2 separate regions of the Homo sapiens genome follow, and region 1 is linked to region 2. Evidence: promoter capture Hi-C in human tissues and cell types (Jung and others, 2019). All regions are on one chromosome and are shown on one strand. The core of a region is centred on a gene start or on the middle of the fragment in contact, and the rest is flanking DNA. Distances in the headings are between cores, read along the strand shown.

Region 1 (2,724 bases), core at 112-2,611, 1.2 Mb after region 2:
TGCTGTATTTTCTGGATGAATTGGACTCAACAGGATCAAACGAGATGAAAGATTTGTTTTTAGAAAAAAATGCAAATAGAAAATATGAAATCCTCTTAAAACTCATCATCCACAACGTTTTTCCCCCGTGAAACTTTTATTTCTTGCTCGCAGAATAAAGAAGAGCCAATGCTCAGAAATTTTCAGATACGTTGTTATTTTCAGGCGTCGGTCTGTACATCAAGAAGACAGTAAGATTCTAACTTCTGGTCTGTAGTAGTGGTTTTGAAACTGTGTTTATGGTCGTGACCTACAGTAAGAAATATATTTTATGACAGTGTGTGTGTGCCTTATAACCAAAAGAAAACAATTTTGAAACAGTATTTGACCTTGCAATATATGATACTCAAATAATTCTTATTCTGTTCTATTAAAAATTGTTCATCATAACCTACTAAATTGATTTTATTACCCACAAATAGGTTGTGACCCTCAGTTTTAAAAGCATAGCTCTACCCAAAATAAAATGGATGCTGTTATACTTTGTACCTTGTCCCTTGAGACTGAGTCAGGAGAACAAGTACACTATTTGTCTACTAAATGATCAAATGGAATTTTGAAGAAGCTCGGCAATACTTACTTCTTGAAGACAGCATTGTTACCCGAAGGCAAGAGTAAGAATGTATCTATGCTTGTCTCTCAAGGTTGTTCTCTTGGCTGCTTATCCTTAAACTACAAGAATTGTAAAGATCAGTTTAAAATCTAGGATTAATTTTAGAGTAAAATTGGGATTGGCATTATGTGAATAATTTAGGTAATTTGTTGATCTTTCTCTGAAACAGTAACCTGTGTTTAAAATTTTTCACATAGAGCAGTCCTTAAGAAAAGAAAGGAACTCATTTTCCCCTGATATATATACACACATATATGTGTACACCATATATACACACACATACACACACATATATGTGTACACCCATCTGTATACACACATATGTGTACACCCATATATACACACATGTGTACACCCATATATACACACATGTGTATGCACACATACACATGTGTACGCACATATACACATGTGTACACATACATATATGTATATTATACTATACATATATGTACACACACATATATAGTGTATAATATGCATATATATGCACACATAGTGCATATTATATATAATATACACATATGTATATAATATATATTATATATTATAATATACACATATGTATATAATATATATTATATATTATAATATACACATATGTATATAATATATATTATATATTATAATATACACATATGTATATAATATATAATATATATTATATACACATATATAATACAAGTGTATATAAGTATATATGTATATACATATATATGTGTACACATATATAAGAAATCCAAATCCAAATACTGAAAAATTTACAAAAAATATTTACAAAAATATTTTTATCAAGTTATTAATTATAGGTGGAATCATGTATGTCTCAAGCTATGTGTTATAAATGTTATCAAATAATTCAAACAATATATTTCACATCTATATATTCTGTATATGCATGATATATATGTCATATGTAATCTATGTTAGGGTACAGCAGTTTCACTTTAGGTCTTAAGCATTGCTTACTTTAGGGTCCACCTTGACATTTCCCCCGCTTCCCCCCAGAATAGATGAGATCCTTCTGTTATGTGTCCTCAGAGCCCCTGCAGTTTGCCACCATTTGTAATTATATATTTGTGTACATATTTGTTTATTATGTTTGCCTTCAGTAAACTCCATGAGGGCTGGGGCATCGTCTGTTGTTTTGCTTACTTTTATTGCCTAATTCCTGGCTCGTTGCCTAACAGCAGGTTCTTTGCTGACACTTGTATGAAGGAGGCAGAGCATAGGTTTTGGTAGTAGATAGGCTTTGAATGTTACCTTTTGATTGCTAGCAGTAGGATTGTGGGGAAGTAATTTAGCCTCTCTCAGTCTGTTTCCGCATTTGAAAGGCAAAAATAATAACATCTTCCTAGGTTGTTATTAAGATTAAGTAATTCCTGTTCTATAGTAAGTGCTCAGTATTAGCTGTTTTATTACATTTCTCTTTCTTCCTCTTTTTGGGCTTAAGGTAAAAGAGGCAAATCCTATAGTGATTTTCTTAAAAAGCCACCAAATATGCATTGAGGCTGGATACTTTTAAAAATAGCTGCAATAATCTCCATTCAAGAAACATTTCCCCCCCAACGTCTGCAGAAGCCATAGAAATAAGAAAAAGGTTTTTTTTTTTTTTTTTTTTTGGATCTAGCTTTTCCAGATTCTCTCTCTTACTTTAGTTGTGGTTTATTCTGCATATTATTCCTACAGGTGTTTGGAATTCTGGCTGGCCCTTGGATCATCATAAATCATGCTGCTAAATTAAGAACTGTAACGCTACTGATTGTGATTGTTTAGGTTAATAGGCACAGCTGTCTTTTTCTGTGGAAATTCTTTTTAGTTCATTTAACTTGTGTCTTTATAACTTGGATTAATTTTCTTTTCATTTTTTAAATGTTATACACTGTAAGAGGAATAGTTTTCAAATTGATCTAGCCACTGCCTAAGAAAAATGAATGAAATCTTTTCACGTAATAAAACTAGATTGATCTAGCTACTGCCTGAGAAAAGTGAGTGAAATCTTCTCGCTTAATAAAAGTAACTTAATCAGTTAGAAATTTTCCTGATTATAAAGGTAACCTGTATCTATTATG
Region 2 (2,915 bases), core at 121-2,620:
GTAGGAATGACTGGTATTACCCAGGGAGCTGGTGCAAAGTAGGAGCCTTGGGGAACATGTTAAGGGGATGTGAGAGTAAGCCCACAAAGACTCAGAAGTGGCCAGGGAGTAAGGGGAAAATGGGATAGAATAGAGCAAAAGCCACGGGAGGCATTCCTTGAATTCCTTGGACTCAGATATGTTAGGGGACAGGAAACACATTGAAGACAACTGAAGAGACTTCAGTGTGCTGCTGAGTTCTTAGCAGAGTAGACAGCTGATTTCACCACTATTCCAGACCCTAAAGATTTCTCCTGAAATTGCACTGTTATGCAATTTTTTTCCTTCTCTATTGCCCCACCTCTGGGGCCTACACTCTTTACCTTCTCTGATTTATCTGACCCATCCGCATATCTCTGCAAAGTCTTAATGTAGGTTTCCAGGATTTAATGATTCTTTCAATCAACTTTAAAGTTCTTCAGGAAGATTCTCCAGGTCCGTCAACAGTTTTCCCCTTCATGACTTTGTGACAAAGCTTTCTTGTTCCACTATCCAGGTGTTCCCAACAAGTTGCTGTAACGGTGGCCCCTCATAAGCTTGCCTGGAAACCCTAGAAAGCTCAGAAAAATTATGAACTTTGCCCAGTAAGAGGCTGGGAAGTCAGAAAGGGTTTTAAACAAAACTGACCCCACTTGTTACATGCTCCTTTCACTGTCCAAACGTCAACCAAAGGAACTTTTGTGACGCTAAGACGCTCCCGGCGTCCTCACCCGTTCACAGCCAGAGTTGATCTTAGAAGGCAGGGGGCTCGCACCGAGACGCTCCTAGCAAGCCCCTCACGCGAGCGAATGACTGGCGCCAGGAGAAACGCATAGGACCTCCCGAAGCCGCCGAGAGCAAAAGGACCCATCAGAGCTGTGCTGAGACCCGCCGCGGGCCGGGCTCGCACTCGAGATTCTCGCCCGTGGGATTCCAGTCCTGAGCTGAACGAGAGATAAGTCTTTGTCACCCCCCAGTCTTTACTGTTTCGAGAAACCCTAAGATTTTTTAAAAAAAAGCCCAAGACGTCAAGTCGGGGAACTCCAACATTGGGGTGTCCAGAAACACTGGGGTTTCAGGCGCTCTGTAAATGCGTCCGAGGTCCGCGGTTCTGCCCGCAAGCCCAGACCCCGGCCTCACTTCCGCCCCGCGCCCCGCGCCCCGGCCTCACTTCCGCCCCGCGCCCCGCGCCCCGCGCCCCGCGCGCCTCCGCCCGCCCCTGCTCCGGCCTTGCGCCTGCGCACAGTGGGATGCGCGGGGAGGTGGTGCGCGGGGAGGTGGAGGGCGAGGGGCGGGGCTACCTCAGGTCCCGCCCGCGGCAGGCCTGTGGGCTGCGAGGAGGAGCTTTGCCTAGCTTGCAGGCAGCGCAGGGCAGACGGCGGCAGGAGAAGCAAGATGAATGCAGGCTCAGATCCTGTGGTCATCGTCTCGGCGGCGCGGACCATCATAGGTGAGTGGCCGGCGGGAGCCGCGCAGAGTCCGAGGCGCCTGCTGCTTCGGCAGGAGCGCCGAGGGCCGGACTTGTGTAGGAGAGGGGCGTATGTGGAGGAAGCCGGTCAGGCCAAGCCGCGAGGAGCCGCGGGATCCCTGGAACCCTGCGGCTCCCGCGTTCCCTGACCTGGTGCTACAGCCCCACCCTCTCCTCTCCCGATGTGCGCACTCCGTCCCTCGTGCTTGGATTGGCTCCCGGGGTAGAGCCATCGCGTGGCCTGCCTCTCCCATTGGTTGGCGTAGGGAGGTGTTCTCCTCCGGGGCCCCTGATTGGCCGGCTCCGGGAGGCGCCATCGGTAATGCCTGCGGCAGGGGCGGAACTGCTAGGTGGTCTGAGCCCGGCTTTGGGCTGGGGTCGGGCTGTCACACAATGGCTAGAAGTCGTGACTTCGTCTCCTTCGTGCCGCATGGTTTTCAACGCCCTTGACCCGCCGGTTCCTTTTGTTTGGGAAGCATGGGGTCGCATCCAGTCCTTCGGATTTGGGGAAATAGAAGGGCTACAGCGGCGTCCCTAGGCCGTTCTGGAGGTCGCCTGTCCAGCCCTCGGCTGCTGCGAGTTGTGGCACCCACCTTGACCTTTGCTCAGACCAGCAGGTGTAGGAACGTGTGGGAGGAGAGGGCACTGCCTCCTCGCGTGGCCTTGCCAAACAGGGTCATGAGGCTCCCCTGCTCGTAGGTGGTTCCCGTATTACCCGCAGGCTTGTGATGTCCACGCTCTCCGCCTTTCTATTGTAGGTTCCTTCAATGGTGCCTTAGCTGCTGTTCCTGTCCAGGACCTGGGCTCCACTGTCATCAAAGAAGTCTTGAAGAGGGCCACTGTGGCTCCGGAAGATGTGTCTGAGGTCATCTTTGGACATGTCTTGGCAGCAGGTAAGTCTCAGTGATTCCAGGAGAAGTCAGGCTTATTAGAAACAGCCCATAAACACACACACACACACACACTCTCACACACTCACACACTCTCTCACTCACTCAAGTTCTTGCCTCCTTGCTTTTGCTCAGAGTTCCCTCTGTTATGATTCCTCCTGTTGGCCCCCTTCTTCCAGCCCTGTCAGTAGCTTCTATCCAGCTTGAGACTCAGCTTCTTGGCCAGGCAGGGTGGCTCCCGCCTGTAATCCCAGCACTTTGGGAGGCGGAGGAGGAAGGATCACTTGAGTCCAGAAGTTTGAGACTAGCCTGGGCAACAAAGCAAGACCCCGTCTCTACAAAAAATAAAATAGCCAGGTATGATGGCCTGTGCCTCCCAGCTACTGGAGAGGCTGAGGTGGGAGGATCACTTGAGCCCAGGAGTTTGAGACTGCAGTGATTGTGTCACTGCACTCCGTCATGGGTGACAGAGTGAGACCCCTTCTCTAAACAAACAAAAAGACTTAGCTTCATTAATATGCTTTTTGTGAATGAACTTA

What was found. Contacts are between HindIII fragments. The study calls those that stand out against the background at their distance.
Region 1: a contact is called between a fragment that was not itself captured here and the fragment with the promoter of ACAT2 in region 2, in 1 of the 25 tissues and cell types used here (hippocampus).

The regions. Positions count from the first base shown.
Region 1 is chr6:160,999,798-161,002,521 of GRCh38, forward strand. The region is part of intron 1 of MAP3K4 (mitogen-activated protein kinase kinase kinase 4); the gene reads left to right. Among named protein-coding and RNA genes, the nearest start is that of MAP3K4-AS1, 8.8 kb to the left of the region's middle. RefSeq lists an enhancer at 1,630-2,131. The HindIII fragment of the contact is 7,469 bases long and covers 1-2,724 here.
Region 2 is chr6:159,760,675-159,763,589 of GRCh38, forward strand. ACAT2 (acetyl-CoA acetyltransferase 2) reads left to right here and starts at 1,371. Exons shown (of 9, transcript NM_005891.3): 1 at 1,371-1,468; 2 at 2,245-2,379. The coding sequence starts at 1,414. SOD2-OT1 (SOD2 overlapping transcript 1) reads right to left here and starts at 1,658. Exons shown (of 2, transcript NR_037166.1): 1 at 1,320-1,658; 2 at 1-962. It also overlaps a transcript of SOD2 not described here. RefSeq lists enhancers at 624-683, 2,752-2,915 and silencers at 1,114-1,173, 1,194-1,343. The HindIII fragment of the contact is 8,135 bases long and covers 1-2,915 here.